Linked DNA regions of Homo sapiens: region 2 is linked to region 1. The links are contacts of gene promoters, found by promoter capture Hi-C in blood cells and fetal thymus (Javierre and others, 2016). All regions are on one chromosome and are shown on one strand. The core of a region is centred on a gene start or on the middle of the fragment in contact, and the rest is flanking DNA. Distances in the headings are between cores, read along the strand shown. Region 1 holds the start of RALYL (RALY RNA binding protein like). Region 2 overlaps LINC02839 (long intergenic non-protein coding RNA 2839).

What was found. Contacts are between HindIII fragments. The CHiCAGO score rates a contact against its expected background, and 5 or more counts as called.
Region 2: a contact is called between a fragment that was not itself captured here and the fragment with the promoter of RALYL in region 1, in 1 of 17 cell types (total B cells). The highest score is 6.3, in total B cells.

What each region holds. Positions count from the first base shown.
Region 1 is chr8:84,179,909-84,185,585 of GRCh38, reverse strand. RALYL (RALY RNA binding protein like) reads right to left here and starts at 2,312. Exons shown (of 9, transcript NM_173848.7): 1 at 1,162-2,312. The HindIII fragment of the contact is 11,643 bases long and covers 1-5,677 here.
Region 2 is chr8:82,134,591-82,140,267 of GRCh38, reverse strand. All of the region lies in intron 2 of LINC02839 (long intergenic non-protein coding RNA 2839), which reads left to right. Among named protein-coding and RNA genes, the nearest start is that of LINC02839, 23 kb to the left of the region's middle. The HindIII fragment of the contact is 623 bases long and covers 3,175-3,797 here.

The sequences.
Region 1 (5,677 bases), core at 1,063-3,562:
AAGATGTATGCCTTCAGGAAATTTATTTGGACAGAAAAATTTCCAGCAGATTCGGTCACAGTGTTAAATACAGAAAAGGCTTTTTATTGCCAACTGGTACGTCTCTGAAAAGTAATGCTAAATTATACTGAAAACATGTAACAGGATAATCATAAAATATCATAGAATACATTCAACATTGAATACGTCAGTGCTACCAACACACGAAATCATCACCTCTATCACCAACCCCTCACTCCTGCCCTGTACACAGTTCTCAGGGGAAAACCTTTAGAGCCAGTATCAGGTGGTTAAAAAGAGGGAAAACTCTGCCCCTTTAACAAAATTTAAATAAAAGGCATTTTTTTAATACCTTAGAGGTGTAGGGTCATTACTGCAAACTAACAGCGTCGTCCTCAACATTAAACCCAAGTGATCATCTTATAAGAAACTATTTCCCCATCCCCTGGAAGACGACACCAGCAGGCACTTAAAACCAACGCAACACAACAGGGAAAAAAAAGATCCAAAGACAGCATCCCTAAGAAAGCAAAGCCCTTTGGTAAAGCAAAATAGGCTGGGTAGGACCTACTGCGTCGTTTACTCATTGCGAAGAGGAGGAGCAGGAGTTGAGCGTGCGAGGGCCGGTGCCATCCTCAAGGCTCTGGAAATGTCTCCAGCTCCGGCTCGCGTGGCCTGGAGCCAGCCCCTCCGGAATATGCGGTCTCTGCCGCTTCTACCCCCATCTCCCGGGTGCTCTGAGGGTCCCCTCTAGCCCGCCCGACGGCCAGCGCCACGTACACGGCCCTCGCCCCTCCTGCTGTGCAAGTGGCCCTCGGAGAACTTACAGGGCCCGCCGGCCGCCTAGTGCCCGGCCGGCGCGGCCCGCAGCGCAGACGCCACCCGCCCCGCCGGGAGACGACCTGGGCGCAGCTCACCGTGGGAGGGGTGGGGGGAGGGGACTGTATTTTGCGCACATCTAGAAAACGATCCTGAAGCAGGGAACGGACTTTGGTTTTCCCTGGCTCCCTGCGCCGCTCTCCCCACCTCGGGCTCGGACACTGCCCGGAGATGCGCGCGCGCAAACACAGACACACACACACACTCACACTCACACATTTCTTTGCTAGGACCAGTGTTGCCACTGCACACCCGGGAAACGCCTCCAAGGGGACCAAGTACCTGCTCTCTGCGAGCTGCTCAGCTGTTCACTTCATCCTCCGTTGACAAGGAAACCAAACCGCACTTCATTTTTTTTTTTCCAGAAAAACCTTCCACTGCCATCATTTGAAAATTGATTTACGGGGAGGGAAGGGGGAGAAATAAGGGACAATATAGATATAGATATCAGGATATCTATCATAAAATTATCTCGGTTTTTTAAAAAAGTCAAATGTGCAAAAGTCATAGTTAATTTAAAGGAGGAAAAAAGTATTTTGCTTAAAAATGATCCCAATCACCAGCTGTAAGAAAAGTTTCATGTTATCAATGGGTATCAAAAACAGGAGGGAAAAAAAACGAATTTGTTTTCACCGGCTTCCAAAAAGGGCACAAAAAATATAAAATTAATGTCTTTGCTCAGTGGTTTGCACCAGTATTGCAAGACCACAAACTTGTAAACACTGCCGTAAAATCCCACCTATACAAAAATGTTATCAGAAAAAGAGTATGCAAAAAAAGAGTTAGAAACATGCTTTTTATTTTTACAAAGGAAAAAAATAGGCACCATACTTCACATCGCTTTTTCCATAAAACCAGTTGCACATTTTGCTGGACTTGGGAGACGCTCCCAGCGGGCACGGTCGCCGCGGACTCCGAGACACAGCGCCTTGTCTACAGAACGATCGCATGCTAGAAAAACTTGGATTCAGGAAAAGGCTCAAAACCATGCTCCTCCAGCTTTCCCAAATATAAACAATAATCAAAGAAGTGGAAAAAAAGAAAAAAAACAAAAACAAAAAAAACAAAAAACCAAAAAAAAGGACAAAAAAAAGAATAGGACAAGAATGCCACTGAGAAGGTACTCACCGAGCGGGAGTAAAATGTTGGAATAAAAATGAGATTTAGTATAAAATACAGTATGGCGGTGGAAGAAGGAATGAAGCGCGTTTTTTTCTCGCAGTCTCTGCCTCAGGCACTGACACGTGACTCGGAGCCAGGCTGACTTGCAGGCAGCGGGGAAGGACCGAGGCTGCGAGGGGGGAAGCCCACGGAGCCCAACTCTGGCTGGCGAGGCGGCGGCGGCGGCGACGGGGAGCCTGGCGCCTGAGAGCGGCAACACCAGTGGCGGCAGCAGCGGCAGCGGCAGCTCGCGGCGAGGCTGCCTTCGCTGTGAGCCCAGACGAGCAGGTGCCCCTCACGCTGAGGCTGAGCACACGCACACGCACACGCAAGACAGGCAGGGCGCCGGCGAGAGGGGGAGCCGAGCGGGGTTGGGCCCGAGGCGCGCAGCTGCCGCCGCCTCTGCCGCTGCTGCCGCGATTGCTGCTGCTGCCTCTGTTGCTGCCGCCGCCGCCTCGCATTGGGAGTGTGTGCTGTGGGGGCAGCTCAGGGGTGCTGATCCAGCGCCTTGAGAGGAGGTGCACAACTTGCTGCTCACCTCAAAGTTGTTGCTTGCCACTTCCTTGTGTATTTCATCTATTTTTCATCTACAGGTAGTTACCTGGGGAGAGATCCCATCGTCTTCTCTCTGGAAGTTTTACTATTCAAGCCCACATTCACTCATTCATTTTGTTTGTTTGTTTGTTTGTTTCCCTGATTTTCCATTTCCCATCCCTCCCAAGCTGCCTTTGCCTCTGCTGTTCCCTCCTCCCTAGATCTGCGTTTCCCCCTCCCGGTTCTCAGGGAACCTGGCTCAGCGCGATGCTGGGGGCGTTGTCACGGGCAAAGCCACTGTCAATCTTTATTGCCATCTGAACGCACAGCCTCTCTTTCGCCGTCTTCAAGGGGAATGCTTGCAGTTTGAAAGACACAACAAAATCTCTTATTTAGGAAACCCCGTCCCGGGTTTCTTTCTGCGGGTTGCGGAGCGGTGGGTGGGGGCATGGGTGTCCTTTATTCATTCGTGGACAAGGCATTGTTTTGTCTGTGTGTGCGCCCGTGCTTCTGAGCTGGTCTGGAAAGCTCCAAGGGTCTATGCTCCATGGCAGAGACTCCTGTTTGACTCTTGCTCAAGTTGTTCGCTGAGGCTGGAAGTCAAAGGAGAGGGGCATGGGAAACAAGTGAGTCCATTGTGTGAGTGCTCGCCTGGAGGGAGCAAGCACTTGGCGGTCGAGAGGGGGAGACGTGTACCAGCAGTGAGGCGGTGGCGCACCCCGCGGGAGCCAGGTGGCTGAGCAGTGGATTCTGAAGGTGAGGGTGGCAGAGGGATTTCTCCACCCAGCGTGTGGGTTAGGGCGCTCATCGATCGCCTGAACAAAGATGCCATCAGCCAATCGCTGGGTGCATTGGGCTTCTATTACTGCCTGTTGAAGAATCAGCTTTGTGGACGCTAGAACACATCTATTTTTCTTCATTTTTGTACAATACTCACCTCAGGACCATTTCCCTGTGCTGCTTTGAATCTAGGTTGTGTGGAATTAATTGGCGTCTCTATATTTGAGAATGAGCAATTAACACAATTCTGCAGTTCAAAGATTCCTGCTCCCGATCTTTATCTCAATGTTTCCAATGCTGACGTTTCATATAAAATGCCTCCATCAGAGATGATCTAACCTCGACATTCTGAAAATTAAGTACACATCCTTCACACAGAGCTTCAGTAGCAAATATGGTCCTCAAACATTGTGCTCAGAATTCATTGGCCAAATAAAGTTTTAATCCGCAATTTAAATAAGAGATTTAAAATAGCCATTAAAATATCACTAAATATTTATTTTGGTGAGTTGCCAACTGTACACCCACTTATTATACATACTTTCCAGGGAGGACTGTTGATTAGGAATACTGACAGAGAGAGATGAATACATCAAAGTGGATTTGATAACTTTGGAAGCCTTGAGTTCTACTCGGAAATCACAGAATTTTAAGCTGGCTAATACAGATCAAATATTGTGCTCTCGCTGTAAAACATGTTGGACTTATTTTATTTTATTTTATTAAGTAAGATCTCTTTACACGTGATCTTTTTCTTCCACAAGTCCTGAATTAATTTTATCTAGGATTTAAAACTTAGTTTGTTAAATTTTCCACATTTTCTCTTCCATTTGAAAATATATCTGATTCTAAACATTTAAGAAGAAAATATTTTAATGCATATCTTTTTCCATCATTCATATCACAGTGGTATTCAAATGTGAAAAACTTCACTTTAAAAATGAGTTTTGAACCTTTCAACCAGGCTGGGAAGAGTTATTCAAGAAGAACTTTGAAAAACAAGCTATTTAGAATTACACTGCACTAATGGCTGTCAGCCAATCACAGTGATTGTCAGTCTTTTATTATTCAATAAAATGACTCCCCTTTATGTTAATGCAGCTCTGCTGAAGAAAAGCAAGACATCAATATCCTCCCTGCACTTTTCCCGTTTACTTATATAATTACATTAGAGTACTCAAAATATTCCACTATCGTTTATTTCCAGTGTGCCATTTTCATCTTTTTGGGTTGTATCACTGCATTATAAACAAGAGTAAACAAAGTCAGGTTGAGGCAACTGGTATTTAGAAAGTATAGCCACTCATTTAATTTTTGTAACAGCTCCATGACATTGACTTTATACTCATTTTAACCATTAGAAAAATAAAGTCAGAGATTTTGAGTAATTTGCACATGATTCTATTGTTAGTACACAGGAAAAACAGGATTGAACCAAAATTATATCTGGTTTTACAGCTAGAATAAAAAAATTCAAAAAATACATCAAAGATACTGAATACTCTTCAGTAATGTCATCAAAGCCAATTAACAAAGGCATGATTTGCTCAAATTCAGTAGATCTAAAATAGATTTGTGAGAATTAATTTAGTCCTATTATTGCCACAAATAACCATTGTAGTACACATATTTATATTCACCTTTTTGATTCTATAAAATACCTGAAGAAAATAAACGAAATGCAGAAGTGAGGGGGTTAAATTTTTCTTAACGAAAAATCTGTACAAAAGATGTGGTCATGTTATCGTGGTTACGTCTTCAGGAGTTGACTACAGAGACTTTTTAAAACAAAGTTTTCATGTAAACTGTTCATGTCCATTCCAAGCTAAGCCATGGTATAATTGAAAAGTACACTAAATGTAAGATAAAACAAATGATGGTAACTGAGGAAAAAAATCTATTTTAAAATTTATGCTATGTAATCTCAATGTTTGTTTCCATAAGAAAATATTGAAGATATATGAACCATAACTATATATATATATATAAAATATAAATATACACTTAGAAATTAGGTTATAATATCATGGTTTAAATGCATACTTTTACATTCAGTACCCTCAAATCATTTTCTTTCATTTTGCTTGCTAATTTTTTTCATAACTTTATGAATTTTATTTTTGATTAATTTTTTTCCTTATTTGTCCTGTCTCTGCCTATTACTATACTTTACTGATACTTCTCTTTCAACGTCTGATAGCATTTTTTCCAATACTTTTGTTTGGAGAAACTACAAATACCAAGACAAAGACATGTGAAATAATGTGTACAAATAACCAAAGAAAATATATGAAAACAAATATTAACATTATAATATGTCATG
Region 2 (5,677 bases), core at 2,237-4,736, 2.0 Mb after region 1:
AGACATATACACAACAAGTCCAAGAACAATACTGTTTCTAACTATTCAGATCATTTAATTTGAATAAGATTGTTTGGGCATCTATGTGTTAGGCAATTAATTTTTCTAGGGATAAGAAAATCAATAAATATACATATATGACCATAAACACATGTGCACATGCACACATATACACACCCCAGCTCTATCACTTATTGTTTGAAATATCTTGCTAGAAATCCCTAAAACTAATTTTCTTTTCGGTAAAGTGGAGATAGTCAAAATTCCTAATGAGTTGTTGAAAAAGCGTATGAAACAATACATGAACACATTGCCTAGCCCATAAGATATACAGTCAGCCCTTCATATCTATGAATTCTGTATCTGCAGATTCTACCCACTGCTGATCAAAAATATTTGAAAGTATTTGAAAAAGAAAAAAATACAATACAACAATAAAAATAATACAAATAGAAAAACAATATACTATAAAAACTATTTATATAATATTTACATTGTATTAGATATTTTAAGTAATCTAGAAATTATTTAAATTATGCAGAATGATGTGCATTGGTTATAAATAAATACTATGTAACATCATTTTGTATAAGAGAATTGAGCATCTGCAAATTTTGATATCCATAGGTGTCTTGGAACAAATGCCCCATGGATACTGAGGGATGACTGTATTCAATAAACATGTTAATATGTATAGACTATTATTAAGTAGAGTTGTTTAAATAAATAAAAATTTTCTAGAACTTTATTTTAGAGCTCATGTATTTCAACAGCTTCTTCAGAGTGTTCAGATAAACTGGGTACCTGAGGCAATGAATCATTGACAATACAAAAAATATAACTCAGAATTCTTTATTCCAAGATCTTTTTATTTAAGTTTTCATTTAGTTCCTTGTAACCTTTTAGCCTGAACTTTACCTCCTACCTCTTCTTCATATATATATGCACCCTGGAGAAAGAAGAGGTAGGAGGTAAGGTTTAGGCTAAAAAGTTACATATATATATAAATAGATTATCTACAACTTCAGCTACAATGATAACTTGGGCAAGCTTTATAAGAATTCCTAGCAGAAGCTGAACAGAATTCAGGTCCTGACTCCTAATTAACTGTTTTTTTGGAGATAGTATAGATGCTAAAAAATGAACAAACTAACAAATGAACTAATGAACTAATATATGTATATTCCTGTGTTAATCCTTTTTGCATTGCTATAAAGGAATACACAAGGCTGGGCAATTTATAAAGAAAATAGGTTTATTTGGCTCACAGTTCTGAAGGCTGTACAAGCATGGCTTCAGCATCTGCTTGGCTTCTGGTAAGGGAATTCCATATGAATATAGAATAGCTCATCCTGCCCAACTGAAACTACCATAACAGTGAGAACTATGTTGTAATGTGAATAGAATTTATTTGATGATTTCTAAAAACAAATTGACTTTTGTTTTCCAGTTATTATCAGAAAAAGAAGGACATGAAATATCACTGACTACTAGTAACTTTTACTTAATACATGAGATTCATGAAGGAAATGTATCTTTTCCAGGCTGAAAATTTCACTATCACTACCAATATGGGTAAAATTATCACACCTTCCCTTAGGTGTGAATATGCCTAGATAATATTCTAGAGTTACCATATATTATTGTAAGATATACACTGTAAAGGAAAAAGCATCATGCCAAAAAGATCATGGCATTCAGGCAGCCCAGAAGTCAGGACTGGTGGAGCCACCCTGAAATCCTCAGTCGCCTTTAACACACACACAAGATGGTTTCATCTCAGAAACAAATTCCACACTTCCCTTTCCTCTCCATTTCATGGCCAGTGCTGTTCCTCAAATGTTTATCATGCCCTGGATCGAGTATTAACTGTGTCACTCTTTTTCAGTCTTCCCTTACTGTAGGTAATCCTTTATCACATCACGTTATCATTGTTATTCATGTTGTCACTGTCATCTTTGGTGAAACTCCAAATGAAACCACTCTGCTCCCACATGGCCCACTCCTTTACTTTCCAGCCACTCAGTCTTTCTTATTGCTTCTCAAACAAATCATATATTCTTTTTTTTTTCTTTTTTTAAAAGACAGGGTCTCAATCTGTTGCCCAGGCTGGAGTGCACTGACATGATCTTAGTTCATTGCAACTCTGCTTCCTGGGCTCAAGGGATCCTCCCACCTCAGCTTCCCAAGTAGCTGGGACCACAGGCATGTGCCACCAAGTCCAGCTATTTTTTGTATTTTTTGTACAGATGAGGTTTCACCATGTTGCCTGGGATGGTCTCAAACTCCTGAGCTCAAGCATCCACCCACTTCAGCCTCCCAAAGTGCTGGGATTACAGGTGTGAGCTACCATACCCGGCAAATCATATATTCTTTAACTTTATTTGTGTTTTGTTTCCTCCGAATGAAATAATTTTACTTCTGTTCATGATGAACATTTTTCTGTCTGTGGTCTTCTTAATAAGAAAAAAAAACCATCCTACTTCCCTGCTCGTTTAATAGCAGTTGAATTGTATCTGTCTTCTTCACCAGACGAAAGATTCTCAAAGAACTCTTGTTCAACTTTACATCCTCCTCTATATCCAACACCATGATATAGTATCCTAACATAATATGCATTCAAGGAATACTTGTTGAATAAATCATTAGGCTGAATAATGTCCTATAATTTTTGTACTAGAAAATAATGTCGTTTGTATGTGAACTAAATACTTGAGTATTAGGTATGTTTTTTTCTAGACGAGTTCAAGTATTTTCTCTCCTCTTCAGAATGTGATCTAACTGAGAAACTGTGTGAAGAGTGACTTTACAATAGCGAAAAGTAGGAAAAGAGGAAGACAATCACTCATACTTGAGTTAGACATAAACACAGATTCTTAGATCTAAAGACTATTTGAAATAAAACCAATGTGTAATTTTTAAATTAATTCCATACTTTTTTGAGTATCCAGAGTAGAAATTAGCTTCTTAAAAAGAAAAAGAAATTCATTATCTATCACAAACCAAACAACTAGCTAGAAATATACAACTTCAGGAAAGTATGACTTTCACTCCTGAGTGCTACTTGATAAATTCTGTCTAAGATCTTATGCATCATTTATCTTTATTTTGGTCTCCACTGATTCATTCATTCACCCAGTAAACATACTGTGTTTCTATCTGTTTATAAAAGCTTAGGCTCAAACCTGAGGTTTGCATCCCTCTTCCCACACTCTCACTGGGAATCAAGGAGCCATAATTCCAATATATGAGAATTATGAAATCAAGGAGCCATAATTCTAAAACGTGAAGTGTTTATCAGAGAGAGTAGGTCAGGTGTGGGAGGAAGAGAGGGTACTAGTCACTTCACTGAGATTTTAGAATAAGGATGTGAGTAGTGAGATACAAAGCCCAGGAGTTGAGAGAATGCTAAAAATAATCCACTTCATAACACTTGTAGGCTTATTCTCAATCTATAAAATATGAATTAATTAACTCTGAATTGAAGCCTCCACTAACACCACCTTAGAGGAAAAAACAGCCAGAGTCATAAAAGTGGCACCAAGGAAAGTGGGGCATTTTCTATACTATAGGCAAGAACTGACTTTTTAGCCACCAGAACTGTTCAAAGAATAGAGGACATCCCTGAAGAAAAATATCACATGAAGAGGACTCCACAAAGAATTTAGAAAACCCAACCCAAAATTTCTGCATTCCAATTTATTCATTCATTTATTCAACATTTATTCATAATTACTGTATTCACCACAAGGGACATAGAAATACACAATAGACATAACCTTTGCCCTCATAAAGCTTATAATACAGTAATAGAAATATTAATTGATCAGTTAACCAAAAACAGACATAATTCTATTTTTGTTCATTGAACACATAATCATATTTAGTGGAATGCAATCAATCATCTGGTGGGCCAAAACATAGAAAGTAAACTGACTTAAATAAGGAGAACTTTTTATTTATTTAATGAAGTTAATGCCTACTATATGTCAGACATAACAATGGATTCAGTGGGGAGAGTAAAAAGCATGTACAAGACAGAGTCCCCTATCCTGCACATAGTATATGGCTTAATAGGAAAAACTGGCATAGATATCAACACACACACCTATAGTATGATGTGATAGCAAGGACATATAATAGAGCCCTTTGCACATTATCTCTACTGTATGTACACATAGAAAAAGCAATCAGAATACAGAGAAAAAAATTTTTTTTTAATTTCAATAGTTTTGGGAAAACAGATGGTTTTTTGTTACATAGATAAGTTCTATAGTGGTAATTTCTGAGATTTTGGTGCCCTCATCACCCAAGCAGTGTACACTGCCCAATGTGTAAACTTTTATCTCTCATCCTCCCCCACTACTTCCCCCCAAATCCCCAAAGTCCATTATATCATTCTTATGTCTTTGCATCCTCATAGTTTAGCTCCCACTTATAAGTGAGAACAAGGAATATTTGGTTTGCCAGTCCTGAGTTACTTCACCTAGAATAATGGTCTCCAATCCCATCCAACTTGCTGCAAATGCCATTATTTCGTTCCTTTTTATGACTGAATAGTATTCCATGGTGTATATATATCACATTTGTTATATGCACTCATTGATTGATGGGCACTTGGGCTGGTTTCATGTTTTTGCAATTGCAAATGTTGTAACTATAAACATGTGCGTGCAAGTGTCTTTTTCATATAATTAATTCCTTTTCTCTGGGTAGATACCCAGTAGTGGGATTGCTGGATCAAATGGTAGTTCTACTTTTAGTTCTTTAAGGAATTTCCACACTGTTTTCCATAGTGGTTGTATCAGTTTCATTCCTACAAGCAGAGTAAAAGTGTTTGGTTTTTACCACATCCACACCAACATCTATTTTTTTTTTATTTTTAAATTATGGCCATTCTTGCAGGAGTGAGATAGTATCACATTACAGCTTTAATTTTCATTTCCCTAATAATTAGTGATGTTGAGTATTTTTTCATATGTCTGCTGACCATTTGTATATCTTCTTTTGAGAATTATCTATTCATGTCCTTTGCCCGCTTTTTGATGGGGTTATTTGTTTTTTTCTTGCTGATTTGTTTGAGTTCCTTGCAGTTTCTGAATATTAGTTCTTTGTGGGATGCATACTTTGCAAATATTTTCTCACATTCTGTGGGTTGTCTGTTTACTCTGCTGATTATTTCTTTTGCTGTGCAGAAGTTTTTTAGTTTAGTTACATCCCATCTATTTATTTTTGTTTTTGTTGCATTTGCTTTTGGGTTCTTGGTCATGAAGTCTTTGCCTATGCCAACAACTAGAAGAGTTCTACTGATGTTATCTTCTAGAATTTTTATGCTTTCAGGTCTTATATTTAAGTCTTTGATCCATCTTGAGTTGAATTTTGTATAAGGTGAGAAATGAGGATCCAGTTTCATTCTTCTACATGTGGCTTTTCAATTATCCCAGCATCATTTGTTGAATAGGGTGTCCTTTCCCCCCCTTTATATTTTTGTCTGCTTTGTCAAAGATCAGTTGGCTGTAAGTATTTGGCTTTATTTCTGAGTTCTCAATTCTGTTCCATTGGTCTATGTGCCTATTTTTATACCAGTATTATGCTGTTTTGGTAACCATGGCCCATAGCCTTGTAGTATAGTTTGAAGTTGGGTAATGTGATGCCTCCAGATTTGTTCTATTTGCTT